Regions from separate parts of the Homo sapiens genome. Here regions 2 and 3 are each linked to region 1. The links are contacts of gene promoters, found by promoter capture Hi-C in blood cells and fetal thymus (Javierre and others, 2016). All regions are on one chromosome and are shown on one strand. Each heading gives the region's core, a stretch centred on a gene start or on the middle of the fragment in contact. The rest is flanking DNA. Distances are from core to core; before and after follow the strand shown. Region 1 holds the start of CACNA2D1 (calcium voltage-gated channel auxiliary subunit alpha2delta 1). Region 2 has its middle 290 kb from the start of HGF. Region 3 has its middle 260 kb from the start of HGF.

Evidence for each region. Contacts are between HindIII fragments. The CHiCAGO score rates a contact against its expected background, and 5 or more counts as called.
Region 2: a fragment that was not itself captured here is called in contact with the fragment with the promoter of CACNA2D1 in region 1 in 1 of 17 cell types (fetal thymus); the score reaches 5.0 in fetal thymus.
Region 3: a fragment that was not itself captured here is called in contact with the fragment with the promoter of CACNA2D1 in region 1 in 1 of 17 cell types (fetal thymus); the score reaches 5.8 in fetal thymus.

What each region holds. Positions count from the first base shown.
Region 1 is chr7:82,442,091-82,445,438 of GRCh38, forward strand. CACNA2D1 (calcium voltage-gated channel auxiliary subunit alpha2delta 1) reads right to left here and starts at 1,687. Exons shown (of 39, transcript NM_000722.4): 1 at 1,275-1,687. The coding sequence starts at 1,369. RefSeq lists an enhancer at 129-692. The HindIII fragment of the contact is 3,454 bases long and covers 298-3,348 here.
Region 2 is chr7:81,481,550-81,484,897 of GRCh38, forward strand. No RefSeq gene overlaps it. Among named protein-coding and RNA genes, the nearest start is that of HGF, 290 kb to the right of the region's middle. The HindIII fragment of the contact is 182 bases long and covers 1,605-1,786 here.
Region 3 is chr7:81,504,283-81,507,630 of GRCh38, forward strand. No RefSeq gene overlaps it. Among named protein-coding and RNA genes, the nearest start is that of HGF, 260 kb to the right of the region's middle. The HindIII fragment of the contact is 4,512 bases long and covers 1-3,348 here.

The DNA.
Region 1 (3,348 bases), core at 437-2,936:
CAACAAAAATTAGACACTCCCCTTCTCCGGGATAGAATGTGCATCCTCCAGATTCTTGCACTGACACCTAAGGTAATAAATACTTAAAACTGAATCTTAAATAATAGCCGCAGGATTTCAACCGCTAAAGATTCACTGTTACTTTCCACCAAAAACTCCTGTATTCAGCACTCAGCCAACAAAGGACAGCAAGTAATTCCCAGCAGCATAAATACCGGGAAAGCTACCTTGGGCTTTGTTTTTGTTATGTAAAATGCATTAAAGTGACTCATCCACTTAAGATTACCTACCTTTAGAAGCTTTAAAGAAGCTCCAAGAACCAAAATAAATGCTTTCCCAGAATGCCGGATAGGCTATTCGGTGCATTAAAAAATATGTATATATTTATATGTGCCATTGAGTTTGATTCTATTTTGCTAAGAAAGGAGAGAATTATTATTTTTCATTCCCTTCCTGTGGTGTGACTATAGCTACCTATAAGCCCTCTATTTCCAGAACAGCAGCGAGGTTTTTAAAAGTTATTTTAGAAATGGTAAAAATAAAAGAAAATTTGTAGGAGACTGGAAATAGTCCCTCCTTCAAAGAATAGGCTCTATTCATTTGAAGAACAGGGACCGCGTGTCTGCCGACACTTAGATGTTTCAAATAATGGGTTGGGGAGGTTGGATCGCGTGGTCCCAGTACCTGCGAGCCCCCTGCGTGGACAGCACGCTCGGCCGCGGGGAGCCAGCACGCGTCTAATCGGAAGGCTGTCAAGTGCATCCAGTAACGTGGGATAAAACGAGTTTGGGCACTACAGCAATTAAAGAGCATCTCCGAGGCCAAGTGCGGGGGAAGTCCACGCTACCTCGGCAAGCCTGAAATTACCTGTTTGTAAATTACCCAACCAAAACATAACTTTTTATTGAACTGGGTTGAATCAGAGCGGGTGAGCTGGCTGGAAACTTTTTTCCCCAGTACGGCTGCACTCTGAAGTCTAGAGAATCCCGTTAGAGACGGGCTGAGACGCCGCGAGTCGTCGGCGGGCGCTTCCCGGGACAGTCGGCCCCCAGTGCCCGGCCCCGTGGAGGCGCCCGAGACGCCGGTTCGGGACGCATTCCAGCGGCGAGCGGCGCGCACCGCCTGCCCGGCGTCTCCGCATCCGAGCCTGGCTCCCCGGCCGCTCGCTCCCCACCCCCACGGGCGGAAAAGCCCCGCGACTCGGGAACCGACCCCCACCCCCAACTCCCGCGGCGCCCCTCGGCCGGCGCTCCCTGCCCGGCCCGCCGACTTACGTGACGGCCGAAGGGAACGGCTCCTCCGACGAGGGGCCGATGAGCAAAGATTGGAAAAGTGTCAGAGTCAAGGCCAGCAGGCAGCCAGCAGCCATCTTCGCGATCGAAGATCAATGCCCCCTCCCTGCCCAAGCGGGGGAAGGAGCGGCGCTGGAAACCGCGGGCGGAGGAAGAGCAGCACACGCCGCCGGGACCGCGGGCGTCTGGAGGGCTGGCTGCGCCCGGGGCCCGAGGCGCGGAGCCGCGCGGGGGACGGCAAGGGCGGGAGCGGACGCCGAGGAAGGGGCGGTGGCGGGCGGACCCACTAGCGTGCGTCGGCTGCTCCGCGCCGCGGCCGCCTTGCCTCCGCCGCCATCAAGGGCGACTTTGGAAACAGACCTCGGCGAGCCCGCCGGCGCTCGCGCGCTCTCGCTCTCCCTCTCGGTTTCCTCCCTGATTTATTCCCCCGATTGCCGAGGCGAAGGCGGAGGCGGGGGCGGGGGCGGAGGAGGGGTGACGGCGCTGGAGGGTGGGGGTGGCTGCAGGAATCGGGGAATGGCAGGCAGAGAGACTTGTGGAAGCGAGAGGCTCCGTCTGGCTTCTTAGGCAAGTCAGAGGGAGGCGGCTGGGGGTGGGCAGCGGGAGGGCTGGGCGTCAGAGCAGTCGGGCGGAGACGGGCCGGGAGCAGCCCTCCATACAAGGCAGCCAGGAACTCCCAAAGTCGGCGCCGGCTCGCTCCCGCCGCCCGGCGTGCGCAGGCGGAGCGGACCAGCCCCGCGGGGCTCCCGGGGGACGGCCAGCCGCCCAGCGGGCATCCACAGGCTGCAGAGGCTCCAACCCAGGACTTGGCTCGCGTCTTCGGGGGTTATTTTTGCACATGCAGGCAGCGTTCCCCCCCAGCCCTACTCCCAGGCGCAGAATCCAGTGCCTGCCTGGGAATCGTGAAGTGATTTGACAACAAATGTAGGAGGGGTTTGTATTGCATTTTAAAGCACCACTGTTGACTCTCTACCAGGTGGCACTATATGCCCGCGTGTGCCATAGGTTAGAGCCTCTGCCGGGGCTGGGTGCCCTTTGTGCCAGCGGTCCCACGCCCAGGTACTGCTCGGCTCACCTGGCGAGGACAGAGCCTCAGGGACCGGGCTGTGGACGGACAGAGAAGTACTGACGCTGTAAAATCTTCCCAGCCCTGTGGTTCCATTGGACAGAGGGGTGGAGGGACGAATTCTGCATCTAGGGAGGACAGTAGTAAGAGAAGCGCTTTGCAGCATCCCAGTTGGGACTACCTCCAAAAGGGTCCTAACGCCCTGCTCTGGCCACTGGCCTGCCCTGCCTGACAAGGTTACCGCAGGGTGAGCTCACTTTTGTCAATGCGAAGGCATGAAAAGGGTAAGCAGCAGGAACAGGTGGCACTCTGAGAAATGCGCCTGAAATGTAGAGGAGGAATTAAGGGAGGGGGAGAGAGCTAGGGAGTAGCAATGCCGGACTGGTTTTATCTCCAGACTCAGAGGAAGCAGTGGCGGGCTTTCTCCTTGAAAAGACAGGGTCTGCGACTAGGCCTCTCCCGCCCAACACAGGCCTCCTACAAGAGGGCCCTGGTGGGCCAAAGATAGAAATATATTCTTGCACACCTTAAATTCTTAAGCTCCCTCTAGTAGTGTATGAGAATACTTTTGACATGACGTGCAGAGAATACAATTTGTGATGACTATCCTGCATATGCAAAAATTCTGTAAGTATCGGGGTGGCTGTCAGATTTTTAATTAGCCCGTTCTTATTTTTAGGAGATGCTTCTGAAAGAAAAAGACCCTTATTAATTCGAAATGAATTTTCCAGCTCTCTGAAGGCAATCTCCCAAAACAAAGACTAATAATAATACTACTACTATTAATTACTGGCCAAATTTTAAGAGCGTGTGTGATTTTATGATGCTTAGCCTGGTGAATTTATTTTTCCTTCCCACTTATTTCTCCTTTTTTTAATGCCTTATTTGTTTTCTTTATGTTCTTCGCATCTCTGTCTTGCTCTTTGTTTCTTTCTACTCTGAGTGGCCTCACAAAAGGCACCCCACCGTGACTTAACTTAGTTTGTTTTA
Region 2 (3,348 bases), core at 446-2,945, 960 kb before region 1:
AATAAGATCAGAGCAGAACTGAAGGAGATATGAGGCACACACAAAAAAGTAATTCACAAACTCACAATTTCTTTTTTCTTTTCTTTTTCTTTTTCTTTTTTTTTTTTTTTTTTTTTTTTTTTTTTGAGACAGAGTCTCGCTCTGTTACCCAGGCTGGAGTGCAGTGGCACAATCTTGGCTCACTGCAAGCTCCGCCTCCCGGGTTCACGCCATTCTCCTTTCCCCTGCCTCAGCCTCCAGAGTGGCTGAGACTACAGGCGCCTGCCACCAAGCCCGGCTAATGTTTTGTATTTTTAGTAGAGACAGGGTTTCACCGTGTTAGCCAGGATGGTCTCAATCTCCTGACCTCGTGATCCGCCTGCCTCGGCCTCCCAACACAATTTCTTTAGCACCAGTCTTTAGAAATGACTGTGGGAATAGTTCAATTTATTGAGAAATACCTTTCTCCTCTTGCTTTATTTGGTGTTGTAACTCCTTCTTCTACCTTAGTTATTTCTATGCAGAGGTAATTTTCTAGTTGTAGAGTTAGTCACTGATGGACGCCACCTGATTATAGCAAGAGAAGGACTAGAATCATCATGTTCACTAGCACTAGGTTCTTGTGTCAGAGCACAGGACCAGGTTTCTGGAGGCTTCTATTCTGCCAGCAGAGCACAACATTTTTCAGTCACCAATGTGAGGTACAAAGAATGGGGATGATCAATGCCTTAATTCAAAAGTGTGATACATGTTTGACAATGAACAATTTATAGGTTGAAAAAAAAAAGATGTGGCAAGAAGTTCCATGTAATGAAACTTGAAAGCTTTTTAACATTCTGCTTTATAAAAACAGAAACATGAATCGTATAAAAACTGAACTAGTTTTAGATATTTCTTAATATAACATTTTCAAGATAATTTATGTAGAGCATCAGTCTAAGTGTATATTTACATTAACATGTAATAGAAAAAAGGGGATCAGGTCTGATCATCTTGTAAAGAGTTATGTTGGTGGTTGGAAGCGTGGAATTCAGACAAATAGATTATATTATGATTTGATGACAAATTATTACTTTTCTCATGACATTGTATGCATAAAAATATGCATTGTAAGAAATCTATGAAAAACTATGGGACTTCAATTCAATAGAATTTCTCCCTTAGGGTGGCATATATAAAGATTCATAAGAATAAGCAGAAGTATAGTACGCTAAGAAATGGAAATGTTATGAATTTGTAAGTGAAGTTTCTTTTAGTGCCACTAGATGGCATATGTTAGCTGTAAATCTCCCTTGAATAAAGTTTAAGATTTAACGTGACTTGTTTCCCCAGAGTATCCAACACATTTTATTTTAAATATTAATGGATTTTTATATGTTTTCTCAAATATATGACACTCAATACAATTAATAAATAATTGGAAAAATATCACATGATTATTTTTATATCAAGTTAAAACAAGAAGAATTATGTCATCTGCAAACAATTTTGTTGTCTTCCTTTCTAATTTGAATGTATTTTAGTTCTTTTTCTTGCCTAATGGTTCTAGCTAGGATCTCCAGTACTATGCTGAATAGAAGTGGTGTTAAGAAGCATTTTTGTTTTGTTTCTGGTGGTAGAGGAAAAGCTTTCAATTTTTAACCATTTAGTATGATGTTAGCTGTTGGTTTGTCACATATAGCCTTTATTATGTTGAGGCAACTTCCTTCTATACCTAGTCTGTTAAGAGTTTTTATCATTGTCAGGATGGCTGCAATATGGCGGAGTAAAAAGTCTCAGGCTACACACACTCCCCCCACCCCTTGTAAGCTTATCTAGCAATTATCCATAGACCAGAACATCTTCTTCAAAAGCCCAATATTGGAAACGAGCCTGAGACAATGTGGTACACATACCTAAGTGAAAATTGAGTGAGAAGGGTCAGAAGAATGGTCTCCCCCCCCGCCACCACGAAGTTGGCACAACACTGGTTGAAGAGCATTACCCTGGACCCATAGTTTCTGCAGTGGGGAAAGAGAACTGGAGGCAGTCATTCAGCTTCCCTAGCATTTTGAGATGCTTTCTTTCCAGGAATCCCGCCTGTCTCACCTCATAGGGAAAGAAAAGGGTAAAGGCATGGCTAGACCACCTGGGGTCAAGTAGAAACAAAGAAAGAAGGCAGAGGCCACAGTGACTAGCATATGGATCTGTGTGGCACCTCTGTGTTCACACCAGCTGCGGTGCCCAATCAGAGTTACCAGCCAACTTCATAGCCCACCCAGAAAGCTGAACTGATCTTTTTCAGAAGCACAGTGGGAAGTTCAGCCTTGCTTGAGTCCCTAGATGGCTAGCCTCCATGGCCAGGCACACAGCCTACTCTAACAACCCTGCCCAGGTAGGGAGATGCCCCCCTCTGCGCATTTTGAGAATCACACAGGCTAGATATCTTGGGTCAAGCAGTGGCTCCACTCATCCAAAAAGCTTGCCTTATAATCCTGCTGAGGCAGGGAGACAGCCACATGCATACATTTCTAAGAGGCACAAGGGCTAGACCTGTAAAACCTAGGAGTCCAAAGAGTAAGTAACTTAGCTCAGCCAAAAAGCCTGCCCAACAACCTCCCGTGTGCATTTTGCAGGAGTGTAGGAACTAAACCTGCTTGACGCAGGAAGTCAAGTAGCATCTTGACTCAGGCAAAAGTCCACCCTACAGCTCTGACCTAATGGAGGCAACCCTTAATCACACATTTTTAAGGAGCATAGGCTCTTGTCTTGCCCATCACAAGCAGCAACTTTCAAAGCCCAGCCTGAAGCCCTGCCCAAGTGCAGATTCCAAATAGTAAAATTGCCCAGCCAAGGAATACATCTTCTGACTACCCTGACCAGAGAGCATCACAGTACCAAGCCGGCAACTCTTCCTAATAGCGGAGCCCAACCAGTAGCTTCCTCTAATAGCAGAGCCCAACCATTGGTCTCTGCCTAACCAGTGGTCTCTCTGGACAGCAGAGCCCAGCCATCAGAGCAAAGGCAGTGGCCCAGCCAACTAGAGAAACCACAGCAAGTTCTGCCTGGAGTTGTCAGCCCTTTCAGAATCACAGGCTAGACTATTAGTGAAGGTCTGTTCCTACAATGAACACCTGTAAAGGCCAAACGAATGGACCATTTCTTCAAATGCACAGCAAATGCAAGGACACAAGTATTATAAAGAATCAAGGAATCATGACACCTCTACAGAAACTAATAAAACTGCAACAGCCAGAGGCAAGAAAAAGCTAAGCTCAAGCCCAGGACATATAAGTATAGTGGAGCTCCAATGAAAATTTAATTCTCATGGATGTCAGCTCCACCATGGTCAGGATCTTCATTATAAAGAAGTGAATCCTGGAATCAAGA
Region 3 (3,348 bases), core at 266-2,765, 940 kb before region 1:
CCCAGTTTTACAGGATCATCTAGTGAAAGCTGGAATTCAAACCAAGACCTGTCTTATTCCTAAGGCCACACTCTTTCTGTTGCACTACTTGGACCTTAAGATTGCTTACTATAAATGTAAAAACTGTTTTGATGCAATCTATGTGAAATTGTTGTTTGCATTTCTTTAATTTCAAAATTTCATTTGAAAACTTTACTTCCCTTTGATTAGAAGGCCTGGTCATATTATAAATGATTGAATATGATTAAAATTTAAAAATTAATATTGTCAAAATTGTTTTCTGAGCCTTGTTACTATAAAAAAGTTAACTGCTTTTTTCTTTTACTATAATATTACTCCTTGAGCTTCTTATTCATTCTTAATCCTATGTACTAATTCAATTAATATATGTCATGCAAATTAGAATAAATGCATGAAAAGAAAAAAAGGAAAAAATATTTACAAATATAAAGACAGAAATTTTAAGCCATTAATTGCACAACTAGTATTTTTCTCGAATGAAAGGTCATTATTTAGGAGATCAAAACAAAATGATCCAAACCTAAAAATTGTTTAAATCTCTTTAATCAGTGACTTGTCTCACTTTGACTATCCACATCATTACACTGGAATGACATGGGGCTTCCTTTATATTGTGTAAAATATTAAGTACACTATTAGTTTCTAGCTTATAGGTAATCTTTAAAAAATAAGTCAATTCTGCTAATAAAAACTAGTGTAAGTAGTGTTCTCTTTTTAATAAGGTAAGACATTATTTTCCTTAAAAATAAACTCTAGCTCTTACGTTGAATGGCCTAGGAAGACTTCATTGAGTATCTTTAGGCAGCAGTCATCAAGTGGAATCAGAAAAGGAAATGTATATCAAATGTATATCAATTACAGGATGTAATTTGCTTATGAAATGACAGGCAGATATATGTCATGCTGGTTTTCCTTGACTTTGTCTACACCCTTTTAAATAGCTCCTTCCACAACTCTTCTCATTTTTTTCTGTCTGTTTCCTTCTGAGAGTCAGATGGACACAAAGACCAATAAATAAATTAATGTAAAATGTGATTCTCACTATTTATTCATGCAGCTTGTTTTTTATAGAGTGGTTAAATGTGAAATAATACACACAGAAATAGTCAAACAGTTGCATAACTTATGTCCCTTATCAAACAGAAGAAAGTGAAATATTTTGAGGGTCACCAAGAGAATTTGTTCCCAATCCACAAATAGAAGGGTGACTTAGCCCCTTAGTTCCCATATTCACAATTTAAGAAGAATGATTAGATAGTTTATAGGTTGAATATCAGAAGTCCCAAGATAAGCAGCAAATATTTCCATTGTCCCCCAGTAGGTCTAAGGGATCTTTTATTGTTGTTTCACACAGGGGTAAATACATACATCATATCTCATCATGCATCTGTCCTGTATGCTTGGCCAGACCAGATAAAAATGGGCATGCTTTCTTTTTAATATGTTTTGTCACAGCCTCTCCAATTTCTGGCATACCATAAAGGTATTATTTTCATCATCATCAACTCATTACATCAATGCTTCTTTACTAATTTTTTCTTAGAAACAATTTGAGGTAAGAGAGGCAGATTTGTTATAATTCTGCTACTACATTTAAAGATATATTATTTAATATATTTTTTATCCCTCTTACAAAAATAATATAAATCAATATTGGATGTCTGGGGGATTCATTTTTCTTTAAAAAGCATGCATGAGTTAATCAAGTTTGAAAATATAGAAATACTAGTATAATGGAGCAAACATGTTCTCTGGAAATAGACATATCTGGGCTAAAATTATGACTTACACTTAATTTGAGCAAGTTAATTTTTTTGTTTGGAACAATGTTGCCTAGTTTGTAGAGTTTCTATGAGGAAGAAAATACCTTATGGAAGTTTATAGCATTCAGTAGGCTAACAATTTGTGACCATTATTATCCACTACTATTATTTTGCAATTTAAGTCTTCATCTTAGGAGAAGACAAAGAATAACAAGAGAACCTTAATTCATGGGTTAGAGACATCAGGTGATCATTGAAATAACCACAATGAGCTCCACTTCCTAGGTTGACAAGGCAGGGTGGATATTAAAGCATAGTTGACAGGAAGTAATATATTTCTCTAATCTCTACAGGTGTTTTGGATAGAGTCTAGTGAATATTAGACTCAGGCTAGCAGATAGTGCTGGTGGCTTCCATGGGTACTCTGACTTCAAAAAAATATCCATATCATACATAAACATTGCTAATTTCTCTTAAATTTTCTTCCTATTCACCATAAATTTTTCTGCCTTTCTATGTCTACTAAAGAATAAAACAGGTCCAATAATATGCTGGTAAACCAACTCTTAAAATGTAAAACAAAACCAAAAACCTGGTATGTAGTATTTGCCAATTTTTGTGACATAAATATTCCCATCATTACCTATTTCAAGCTACCAAATGCTTAGCAACAAGACTACAAAATTTCTGCATGCTTAACAATAGGCTCTCTCAGCTGGGATAAGCCAGCTCCAGCATACTACTGTTCCAAATTATCAGCTGAAAACAAAGTGCCAAGAGTATTTGGTTGTAAATTATCTTATGAGGTATATGTAGTAAGGGTTTGGTGTTTGATGAGTCAAATCAGCCTTGGAAAAGTAATGTGCCTGTGCAACGAGCACAATAGAAGAAAAAACATATAAGGTTACAAAGATATAAGTCTCTGGTGTGTCTAAGCAGCCATAATATCCTCAGGATTCATCTTTAATGTCCAAATTAAGTGAAAAGCACTAAAAATTCCAGTTTTGTCACTGTACGCAGCTCTTAAACTTTTTTTAGTTCTTCACTGATGGTTTAAAACCTTTTCATTACTGATTTGCATCATGAAATATGAATGGTTGAAATAATGAAAAGATTGGACAGAGTTATTTATAGACCTTCTCCTTCCTAGTCTTCTGCTTATACACTGTTTATGTTGAAATCAGAGTAAAAAAACATAGTTATAAACTTTGATGATTTAAATATACCTTTCTTTCATTTTGTCAAAGTGGACATTAGTTCTGGAATTTTTATTACGGGCTCAATTTGCTACATAAAGATAGTTTCAGGAATTTTGATTCATAATTCCTTGGGGATCACATTTGCAGGAAATAGTGTCTAGCCAGTTACCTCATTGTCTCTTTAGCCAATCTGGACTCAAATTGGAAGAGTTTAATTCAGTTCATGAAACATGGCTTAATGTCTTCTCTACCTGCCCTGAGAGAGACCTTTGAATAATCACGTATAGGTTCAAAGACTAAGGTTAATCAGGAGACAGGTATGGGTTCAAAGACTAAGGTTAATCAGGAGACAATATACAACAGTT